Linked DNA regions of Homo sapiens: regions 2 and 3 are each linked to region 1. Evidence: promoter capture Hi-C in human tissues and cell types (Jung and others, 2019). All regions are on one chromosome and are shown on one strand. The core of a region is centred on a gene start or on the middle of the fragment in contact, and the rest is flanking DNA. Distances in the headings are between cores, read along the strand shown. Region 1 holds the start of KCTD19 (potassium channel tetramerization domain containing 19). Region 2 overlaps GFOD2 (Gfo/Idh/MocA-like oxidoreductase domain containing 2). Region 3 overlaps CBFB (core-binding factor subunit beta).

The links. The method cuts DNA at HindIII sites, captures the fragments that hold promoters and counts their contacts. A contact is called where the count stands out against the background at its distance.
Region 2: a fragment that was not itself captured here is called in contact with the fragment with the promoter of KCTD19 in region 1 in 1 of the 25 tissues and cell types used here (dorsolateral prefrontal cortex).
Region 3: a contact is called between a fragment that was not itself captured here and the fragment with the promoter of KCTD19 in region 1, in 2 of the 25 tissues and cell types used here (dorsolateral prefrontal cortex and mesenchymal stem cells).

The regions. Positions count from the first base shown.
Region 1 is chr16:67,325,035-67,328,649 of GRCh38, reverse strand. KCTD19 (potassium channel tetramerization domain containing 19) reads left to right here and starts at 1,909. Exons shown (of 16, transcript NM_001100915.3): 1 at 1,909-1,945. The coding sequence starts at 1,943. It overlaps LRRC36 (leucine rich repeat containing 36), which reads right to left and starts at 1,835. Exons shown (of 14, transcript NM_018296.6): 1 at 1,718-1,835. The coding sequence starts at 1,787. RefSeq lists a silencer at 1,793-1,942. The HindIII fragment of the contact is 4,520 bases long and covers 399-3,615 here.
Region 2 is chr16:67,683,094-67,686,708 of GRCh38, reverse strand. GFOD2 (Gfo/Idh/MocA-like oxidoreductase domain containing 2) reads left to right here. Exons shown (of 3, transcript NM_030819.4): 2 at 907-1,252. The coding sequence starts at 994. Among named protein-coding and RNA genes, the nearest start is that of C16orf86, 18 kb to the right of the region's middle. RefSeq lists enhancers at 888-947, 1,994-3,193. The HindIII fragment of the contact is 6,447 bases long and covers 1-3,615 here.
Region 3 is chr16:67,044,929-67,048,543 of GRCh38, reverse strand. The region is part of intron 3 of CBFB (core-binding factor subunit beta); the gene reads right to left. Among named protein-coding and RNA genes, the nearest start is that of CBFB, 18 kb to the right of the region's middle. The HindIII fragment of the contact is 7,078 bases long and covers 1-3,615 here.

The sequences.
Region 1 (3,615 bases), core at 660-3,159:
ATATTTCTGGAAAACTATCCAAGATACTGGTAACAGTAATTGCCTTTAGGAAGGGGAACTAGGCCTATGAGACGGGGATGGGGGAGTAAAGACTTTCTTCTCACTGTACAATTTTTATTTTATTTATTTATTTTTTCGAGACGGAGTCTCACTCTGTCACCCAGGCTGGAGTGCAGTGGCGCGATCTCGGCTCACTGCAAGCTCCGCCTCCTGGGTTCACGCCATTCTCCTGCCTCAGCCTCCCGAGTAGCTGGGACTACAGGCGCCCGCCACCATGCTCCGCTAATTTTTTTTGTATTTTTAGTAGAGACGGGGTTTCACTGTGTTAGCCAGGATGGTCTCGATCTCCTGACTCGTGATCCGCCCGCCTCGGCCTCCCAGAGTGCTGGGATTACAGTCGTGAGCCACCGCGCCTGGCCCTCACTGTACAATTATTATATTACCCACAGAATAAATTAATTGAATTATTTTAACAGTCAAAATGAGTAAATATTACATATTTCCCCCCTCTACCAAATTAATCATTAGACTACCGACATGCTCTAGTATATCCTTCCTGTTCTGTTCTTGACTGCACATCATACGCTTCAGCTACCATCTATTTCTGCAGTCTCTTTTACAGCTAAAATTTTCAGCAAAAGTTCTTACTTTCACTGTCTCTTCCCCTCAAATATCATTTCCCTTTTTCATCCCACTCCAATCTGGTTTCCCTCCTCCCCACCCTCCCAAAACTCCCTCTGTCAAGGTCACCAGTAAGTTCCATGTTGCTAAATCTAACAGACACTCTGCATTTAAGTTGCTCAGCCTGTCAATAGCATTTGGCACAGTTGGCCATTGCTTGCTCGATACACTACCCCTTCTCAAATTCCAAGATACCACATTCTTCCTCTATACAACCTCTAAACACTGAAATATTCCAAGGTTGAGTCTTAAGCTTTCTTTCACTTCTCCATCGACATTCTCTCCTTAGCTGAGTTCATCCACTCCCGTAGCTTTAAATACCACCTATTGCTAATGTCTCCAAAATTTTCATCTCTAACCCTGACCTCTCCTCTGAGGTCCAGACCCATATATCCAACTGCCTACTAGGTACCTTACACTTGGATGTCTAATAGACATTTTATTATTTATTTATTTTATTTATTATTATTATTTTTGAGATGGAGTCTCGCTCTGTCGCCCAGGCTGCAGTGCAGTGGTGCGATCTCGGCTAACTGCAACCTCCGCCTCCCGGGTTCAAGCGATTCTCCTGCCTCAGCCTCCCGAGTAGCTGGGATTATAGACTTGAACCACCACGCCGGGCTAATTTTTGTATTTTAGTAGAGACGGGGTTTCACCATGTTGGCCACGCTCAGGTGATCCACCCGCCTCCGCCTCCCAAAGTGCTGGGATTACAGCGGTCAGCCACCGCCCCCCGCAGTTCTGTCACCTGCGGCAGGGTCCCCTGTTAACCTTGTTTCTCCTTCCCTACTTCACACTCCCCTCTTCTCTCTCAATTCCTCGGGCTCTGCCCCACACCCTCCCGTTACTTCAGTTCCTCCACCTCCACCTCCCTCTAACCTTCTGCCTCAAGTTATCCCCCCGCCCCCCAGCCTCAGGTACCGCTTCTCTGTGGTTCCCTCGCCTCTATCTCAGGTTCCCCGCCTTCCACTTCAGTTTTCTTTCCACAGCTTCTGACCCTACGTTCCCAGTCCACACCCTCCCGGCCAGACCCTACCCGGCTGCTCCAGCGTCAGCGCCCCCAGGCGGCGAATGCCTTCCTCGTCCAGCTCCCATTGCTCCGCCATCCCCGCCCGCCGCTCACCTGCCACCGCCCGCGAGACCACCCGGCGCACGCCAGGCCCCGCCCACTGCCCCGCCCCCCGCGCGCGCGCCGCCGCGACCCCGGGAACCGTTATTGGCCGGGTCACAAGCCCGCCCGCCCGCTGCTGGAGCCGCGACCATGGTACGGAGCCCGCTCTGGCGGGGGCGCCAAAAGCACCAAAGCGGCGAATGGGGGCCGCTGTGGCCAAGGATTGGGGCTAAGTGGTTCGAGACCTGGCTCTGGGGCATGGGAGAGAGCGAGGGGCCCCCAGCCGGGAAGGATTTGGGGGGCTGGCTCTGAGGAGTTAGAATAACGCTCTGTCTTGAGGGATGAAGTGTTCTGGCTCTGAGGATGTGGGGGACTCCGGTTCTGAGGGCTGGGCGTGTGCCCCTTTGACGGGGTGGTCTTCATATCTCAGCGCTGGGGGATGCTGACTTTGGGGCAAGGCGAGGGTGTGTGTGAAGGGGAGATCCAAATCTGAAGGATTGGAGCGTGGGGACAGAACTCTAAGGCATGATGGGGAGCTCCAGATCTGAAAGGTTGGGAATCCTGGCTCTGAGGAGTTGGGGTCCTGTCTTTAGAGCATGAGGAAGTTCTAGCTCTAGAAATTGACTTGGACGGGCTGGGCGCGGTGTCTCACGCCTGTAATCCCAGCACTTTGGGAGCCCGAGGTGGGCGGATCACCTGAGGTCAAGAGTTCAAGACCAGCCTGGCCAACATGGTGAAACCCCATCTCTACTAAAAATACAAAAATTAGCCGGGTGTGGTGGCACGGCCTGTAGTCCCAGCTACTCGGGAGGCTGAGGCAGGAGAATCGCTTGAACCCGGGAGGTGGAGGTTGCAGTGAACCGAGATTGCACCACTGCACTCCAGCCTGGGCGACCTGAGTGACAGAGCCAGACCTTGTCTCAAAAAAAAAAAAAAAAAAAAGGTAAGAAATTTACTTGGACGGAGCTTCTTCGGGGGAGAAGGATCAGCGTGGGAAAGAGAGAAGCTCTTTGTAATGGGGTGGGGATGACTGCTTTAGGGCTACCCCGTTTCCTGAAGTCAGTCCGGCAAGAAGCCTTTTGTCTTTCAAGCACCACAGGTTCCCCTAAGCTTGCCTGTGACTGAGGGCTGTCGCCAGGCTGCGATAGCTCTGCACTAACCAGCCCCTGAGTAGTCTTTGGGAAAGAACAGCCGCATCCCTAACCCCTACCCTCACTCCAGCAGGCACTTAAGAGCCCACCTGTGGATGGGACATGTATGTAAGAAGGAGCCAGGACCCTCTTGTCACACCCTATCCTTAACAAGAAAAGAGGGTGGGCTGGGCGTGGTGGCTCACGTCTGTAATCCCAGCACTTTGGGAGGCCGAAGCATGTGGATCACGAGGTCAGGAGATCGAGACCATCCTGGCTAACACAGTGAAACCCCATCTCTACTAAAAATACAAAAATAAAACAAAATAAAATAAAATAAAATAAAATAAAGCCGGGCGTGGTGGCGGGCGCCTGTAGTCCCAGCTACTTGAGGAGGCTGGAGGCTGAGGCAGGAGAATGGCGTAAACCCGGGAGGTGGAGCTTGCAGTGAGCCAAAATCGTGCCACTGCACTCCAGCCTGGGCTAGAGAGCGAGACTCCGTCTCAAAAAAAAAAAAAAAGAAAAAAAGAAAAAAAGAAAAAAAAGAAAGAAAGAAAAGAGGAACTGAGACCAGAACTGGGGCTCACCTTCGAGAAGTAGGTTTTCTTTGGCATCCAACATCTGCACACTCTGAGCACCCCCATTGAGCTCTCAGCCACCTTTAAGGAGAACAGAAAGCAGAATCAAGGGTCC
Region 2 (3,615 bases), core at 508-3,007, 360 kb before region 1:
ATCTGCCACCACACCTGGCTAGTTTTTTTTTTTGTATTTTTAGCAGAGATGGGGTTTGGCCATGTTGACCCGGCTGGTTTTGAACTCCTTACCTCAGGTGATCCGCCCGCCTTGGCCTCCCAAAGTGCTGGGATTACAGGTGTGAGCCACTGTGCCTGGCCTCCACTCTTCTTTTCTTTGTCATATATAGAATCATGAACTTTTATAGCAAGAAGGAACCTTAAAGATCAATCACTCCCCTTATTATACATTTAAGGCCCTGAAAGTTGAATCTTTTGACCAGGGTTACACAGAAAGTTAAGTAGCAGAACAGAGATTTAAACTCAACTTTATTCATTTTCCGTTTTTCCTCTTATCCTTCAGTCTCCATGGAAGAAGAAGATTCTGCAGTGTTTCATCTTGGAACAGTATTTCTTTTTTCTTTTGAGACAAGGTCTTGCACTGTTGCCCAGGCTGGAGTGCAGTAGCACAATCATAGCTTACTATAGTTGTGAACTCCTAGGTTCATGTGATCCTTTCACCTCAGCCTCCCAGGTAGCTAGGACTACAACAAGCGCATGCCACCACATCTGGCTATTTTTTAATATATATATTTTTTAATAGAGATGACATCTCGCCGTGTTGCCCAGGCTACTCTCAAACTCCTGGCCTCAAGTGATCTTCCCACCTCGGCCTCCTGAAATGCTGGGGTTACAGGCATGCATGAGCCACCATGCCTGGCCTCGAGCCCTATTTCATTTGTGCTTTTCTGGCAGAGAACTTGTTACTTCCTTATTTGAAAGTAGCCTTCGCACCACTGCACTCCAGCTTGGGCAACAGAGCGAGACTCCATCTCAAAAAAAAAAGAAAGTAGCCTCAGCTGAGTGTCCTCTCCAGTAATAACCAGTGTAATGTTTGCTATTCTAGGAGCCATGTCTGACCAGGACGTTTGGAAGATCATATCCATGCCAGAGGCTCTTGTGAGGAGATGAGTTGGTAAAGAGAGAGGCTGGGATGAAGATGCTGCCAGGAGTGGGCGTGTTTGGGACTGGCAGCTCCGCCCGAGTTCTGGTCCCACTGCTGAGGGCAGAAGGGTTCACTGTTGAGGCCCTGTGGGGGAAGACTGAGGAGGAGGCGAAGCAGCTTGCTGAGGAGATGAACATCGCCTTCTACACCAGCCGGACTGATGACATCTTGCTGCATCAAGATGTGGATCTGGTGTGCATCAGCATCCCCCCTCCACTCACCCGGCAGATATCCGTGAAGGCTCTAGGTACGCCCGGCAGGCCACAGCAGGGGCAGATCATGTCTCTCCCTCTGGGCAGTCCTCTGAGGGTCACTCCTCTCCTCTGAGCTCTCCTTCCTGGGCTCGCATCTGCAGGGAGGAGAACTCTGGGACATCACTTGTCCCTGAAGCAGTGCTTGGGGAGGGCATGAAAAAAGACATAGCCTAACCTACCTCCCATCTGTAAATCCCTGAACAGAAATTAAGGAAATACTCTAAGAGACAGCCATCAAGGGGCTGGAGATGGTTGCATCTCAGTCAACATAAAGTTTGCCTCTGTGAAGTTAGAGGTCAGAGCCCTGGGTGGCGGGGAATTGGTTGTGACTAGTGTGTTTGTTCTCCCATTTCTGGGGCACACAGCACCACAGGAAGGAGAGGCTGTGTAGCAAGGCTACCATTTCCCATGTTTTGTCAGCGTTTGACTATAGTGAGCACACACCCTTCCTGCCAAACTGCAGTCTTGTATTGCCGGAGGACAGGAAGGCTCTGCCAGCATTGGGCTTCCCTGACAGGATCCGTCGACAGCCTGCTTACATGACATCTCCACTCCCTTGGGAAGTTTTGGGCTTGGTAACCTCTTGCCCCTGACTGGGCATGGCCTGCTGAGCTGTTCTCCTACAGTTCCCGTTGGTCTTCTATTTCCAGTCAACTGGAGTCAACTTCTTCTCTTTATCTAATATAAATCAGAACCTAGTTTACTAAGTAAACAAACCAGTAAACATTCAGCCAGCAATTTTTATTTTATTTTGAGACAGAGTTTCCCTCTTGTTGCCCAGGCTGGAGTTCAATGGCGCAATCCCGGCTCACTGCAACCTTCGCCTCCCAGGTTCAAGTGATTCTCCTGCCTCAGCCTCCCAAGTAGCTGGGATTACAGGTGCCTGCCACCACACCCAGCTAATTTTTGTATTTTTAGTAGAGACAGGGTTTCACCACATTGGCCAGGCTGGTCTCGAACTCCTGACCTCAGGTGATCCATCCGCCTCGGCCTCCCAAAGTGCTGGGATTACAGGTGTGAGCCACCATGCCCAGCATTTTTTTAAAATTATTATTATTATTTTATTTTATTTTTTTAGATGGAGTCTCACTCTGTTGCCCAGGCTGGAGTGTGCATTGGTGCAATCTCAGCTCACTGCAACCTCCACCTCCCAGGTTCAAGCGATACTCCTGCCTCGGCTTTGCAAGTAGCCAGGACTACAGGCATGTGCCACCACGCCCAGCTAATTTTTGTCTTTTTAGTACAGATGGGGTTTTGTTATGTTGGCCAGGCTGGTCTCGGGCTCCTGACCTCAGGTGATCCACCTGCCTTGGCCGCCTCCCAAAGTGCTGGGATTACAGGCAGGAGCCACCACACCCAGCCTCAATTATTTTTTTAATGCCTCCTGTGTGCCAGTCACTGTCCTGATGTCATTTTGGACATTCAAAGCTGTGTTAGATTGGACCCCTCCCTGTCTTCAGATTTTATAGTCCAATTGAGGCAACTAGAAATAACACACATTACAAGGTAGATGACAGAAGACATAGTCACAATTCAACTAGCACATACTTACTTGACTGAGTAACTGTTTTATGTGAGGTAATAGGAGCCAAGTGTCTCCTTGATGCAGCCGAAGATCTCTAGGTCGAGGAACCGGTGCCATGAGGTTGTCCTCCACTCTTCCTGACCACTGCCATGGTGGCAAACCTCAGGGTCTGCTACTTATCTCCTCCCTCATTCTGAGGAATGTCATAGGAAGGTGTCTGTCACCTCTGGCTCAGTGGGTAGGGAAGGATAAATGTTCTTTGAAGTGAGAAAGAACTTCAGTCTGTCCGGTTGTCAATTTGGAGCAAGTAAGTTTTGGCCTTATTGTTTGTTTCTTCCAGAGAGCTCTCTCTGAGGATGTGTGACATTGGAGTTATTCATTCATTGGTCACCAAATGCTTGGGAGGTCAGATGGTGGCTCCCAGATTGAATTCAGAAATAGACCTAAGTCAACACTTTAGCAGCAAGTTGGTTCAAGGGGAAGCAAGCCGCTATTGGTCACTTGACTCCTTGCCATCCCTTGTGGCTTGAATGCAGGCTGGAAAGGTGAGGTGTGTCCGGAGCCAGAACTCTGGAGGCTCTCAGTCTTCTTCCTGAATTTTAGGGTTCCCCACAGAGACCATTTCCAAGCTATACGGGAAGAAAGAGGAAACCCCAGGGTTCTTTGGCAACAAGCTTGCTTTTTTTCTGGTTCTTGGTATGCTCCACCAGCAGCAGCATCACCTGGGAGCTTGTTAGAAACTGAATTCTCAGCTGGGCAACATAGTGGGATCCCGTCTCTACAAAAAAGTTTAAAAATTAGCCAGGCATGGTGGCACGCGACTGTGGTCCC
Region 3 (3,615 bases), core at 524-3,023, 280 kb after region 1:
CAGTTGTGTAATTGGTGAATTAAGATGCTGACTTTCGTTTCAATTTTTAACTTCATGTAATATCTTATTTTAATATTTTATAAATAGCTTTTAAAAAAGTGAGTATAGTCTCACTGAGAATATGTGTCAGGAAGAACCAAAAAGCTCAATTCTCTCCCCTGGTCAACTGCCTGAATTTTCTTTTTTTCTTCATATCCAATGTTTTCATACAGAATATTCAGGATGGATATTTTAACCTTGGCCAATACATTTAAGGAAAATAAAAAATGTTTTAGGGGTTTTTTTTGTTATTTGTTTGTTTGGAGATGGAGCCTTGCTCTGTCACCCAGGCTGGAGTGCCGTGGTGCGATCTCTGCTCACTGCAACCTTTGCCTCCCAGGCCCAAGCAACTCTCCCACCCCAGCCTCTCTCAAGTAGCTGGAACCAGAGGCATGCGACACCACGCCTGACCAATTTCTGCATTTTTATTTTTATTTTTTTTGAGATGGAATTTTGTTCCCAGGCTGGAGTGCAGTGGCGCGATCTTGGCTCACTGCACCCTCTGCCTCCCAGGTTCAAGTGATTCTCCTGCCTTAGCCTCCCGAGCAGCTGGGACCAGAGGCACCCACCACCATGCCCAGCCAATTTTTGCATTCCTAGTAGAGACGGGGCTTCACCATGCTGGCCACGCTAGTCTTGAACTCCTAACCCCAGGCGATCCACCCGCCCTGGCCTTCCAGAGCACTGGGACCAAAGGCACGAGCCACGGCACCTGACCCAGTAAAAAAATGGCCAAGAAATGTTCTGGATAGCAAAGGGATGGATAGAAACTCAGGACTAAAAAGCTGGTGTGAATAAATATCCTAAAAAAAAAATTTAAAGGGTTCTCCCAAATGGCTCATTACTTAGAACACTGTTCTGCAAACAGGGCCACACGATTATTAGAAACTATCATTGTTATTATATGGAACAAACTTTGAACATCTATGATATGGGCAGATTTGTTTATTTGAAAACATCTACATTCTTCTAATGTAAATGTCGAAGTCACAAGTTTCTAGGCCATCCTTTTGTTTTAATCTGAAGATTAACCTGTCTTTACATCTGAAGTTTTAAAACACAAAAAGGCTCAGTACTGACTGCATACATGGGTAAAAGGTTTTTCATCCACAAAAACAACCTGCCAACCATCCCCAGACTCAGCCCTTTCCCTCTTAGGTACAGCCTGCATTAGAGTCCTGAAAGCACAGCAATACTGCCAAGAGGCACGTTTTATTTTTTTAAATAGTTTCCACACATGGCATTGAAGACATTTCAAATGGTATTTATTTATTGAGACAGAGTCTTGCTGTGTTGCCCAGGCTACAGTGCAGTGGCATGATCTCAGCTTATGCCTGGCTAATTTTTTTTTTTTTTTAGTAGAGACGGGGTTTCACTATGTTGGCCAAGCTGGTCTTGAACTCCTGACCTTGTGATCTGCCTGCCTTGGCCTCCTAAAGTGCTGGGATTACAGGTATGAGCTACTGCGCCCGGCCCTTCAAATGTTATTTAAAATTCTTAGTTCCTAAACACACATCAATTTGAGGAGGCCCAGCTTAAACTGAAAAGCTTATAACAGATAATACTTTCCAACTGTTCACGTGCATACTTTCATAAAAAAAGGAACAATAATTAAAGTCTACCATATCACTATTATACTTTAGCTTGTCTGTAGCTTCCAATCCTCTGTACAAAACTAAGCATCAAAGAATAATATTGAAGAAACAAAGTCTCTGCACCTGAAGGTAAACAGCATTTTTATGCTGTTAAAAAGAAATTACAAACGTTTTCTTCCCTGTAAGATGAGGATCACAAAAGTATCAGTGCATGTATGTCTGCATCAATTAGAACACTACCTGCAAGGGGGCATGAGGGAACTTTTTGAAGCAATGGTGAACTTTGGTGGTGGTTATACTACTGAATACACAGTTGTCACAGACTTGTACACTTAAAATAGGTGAACTGTACTACATGTAAATTATACCTCAATAATGCTGATTGAAAAACTACAAGTGAAAATGGGAAATAGTAAAACTAGGGCATAGCAGTGCTACAAAGAAATTAACATCTTCAGACAACAACATTTCAATAGTCTTTATCCTGGCAGCATTTGAATTAACCATTAAAAAAAAATGATGGGTACATGCCTGTAATCCCAGCACTTTGAGAGGCCAAGGCGAGAGGATTGCTTGAGTCCAGGAGTTTGAGACCAGCCTGGGCAACATGGTGAGACCCCCATATCTACAAAAAAATTACCTGGGCATGGTGGCGCGTGCCTGTGGTTCCAGCTACTTGGGAGGCTGAGGTGGGAGGATCGCTTGAGCCCAGGAGGCAGAGGTTGCAGTAAGCCAAGATCACACCACTGCACTCCAGCCTGGGTGACAGAGAGATATCTAGTTTCAAAAACAAACAAACAACAACAAAAAAGGCCAGGCACAGTGGCTCAGAGCGCCTATAATCCCAACACTTTGGGAGGCCAAGACAGGCGGATCACCTGAGGTCAGGAGTTTGAGACCAGCCTGGCCAAAATGGTGAAACCCCATCTCCAATAAAAACACAAAAATTAGCCAGGTGTGGTGGCGGGTGCCTGTAATCCCAGCTACTTGGGAGGCTGAGGCAGGAGAATCGCTTGAACCTGGGAGGCGGAGGTTGCAGTGAGCCAAGATTACATCACTGCACTCCAGCCTGGATGACAGAGCAAGACACTGTCTCAAAAAAAAAAAAAAAAATGTAGAAAGTAGAAGGAAGGAGGGGAAGAGTGAAGGATGCTCTTCTCAGACATATTATTTCTGCCTTCTCTCACTTGGAATATGTAATTCAGGAAAGGTCATGAAAGAGAATTTCACCTTTACACTAAAATGGAAATAATGCAATCCAAAAGAAGAGAAAACGGGACTTCACAATCTTCAAGTGCTTCAGAGGTGCATTTACCATGTATGCAGATTCACGTACTCTAACTGGAAGGTACTATGACATACTAATTTTAAAACATTTTAATTTTTTTTTTTTCAGACAGAGTCTTGCTCTGTTGCCCAGGCTGGAGTGTTGTGGTACAATCTCAGCCCACTGCAACCTCCGCCTCCCGGGTTCAAGCAATTCTCCTGCCTCAGTCTCCCAAGTAGCTGGGATTACAGGCACATGCCAGCATACCTGGCTAATTTTTTGTATTTTTAGTAGAGGTGGGGTTTCATCACGTTGGCCAGTCTGGTCTCGAACTCCTGACCTCAGGTGATCCACCTGCCTCGGCCTCCCAAAGTGCTGGGATTACAGGCATGAACCACCCCACCTAGCCAAAACATTTTAATTTTTTCAGAAAGTCGACTTCCTCTCTTAGATTGAAAAATAACTAAAATAACTAAAATAAAAACTTTTCTTTAAAAATACAAACGCTCTGCCAGCTACAAAGGTGTCAAATATATATATATATATAAGCTTGCAGTTACCAGTTCTAAATTTTATGATTCCGTTATTATTAGAGTATTATAGTTTATCTAAAGCATATTTTTAAAAACCAGATTTCAATACACTAAACTGTCAATAACTAAGTGCTGTCAATTCATATTTTAGTCGAACTGAAATACTTAAAATCCAGATGTG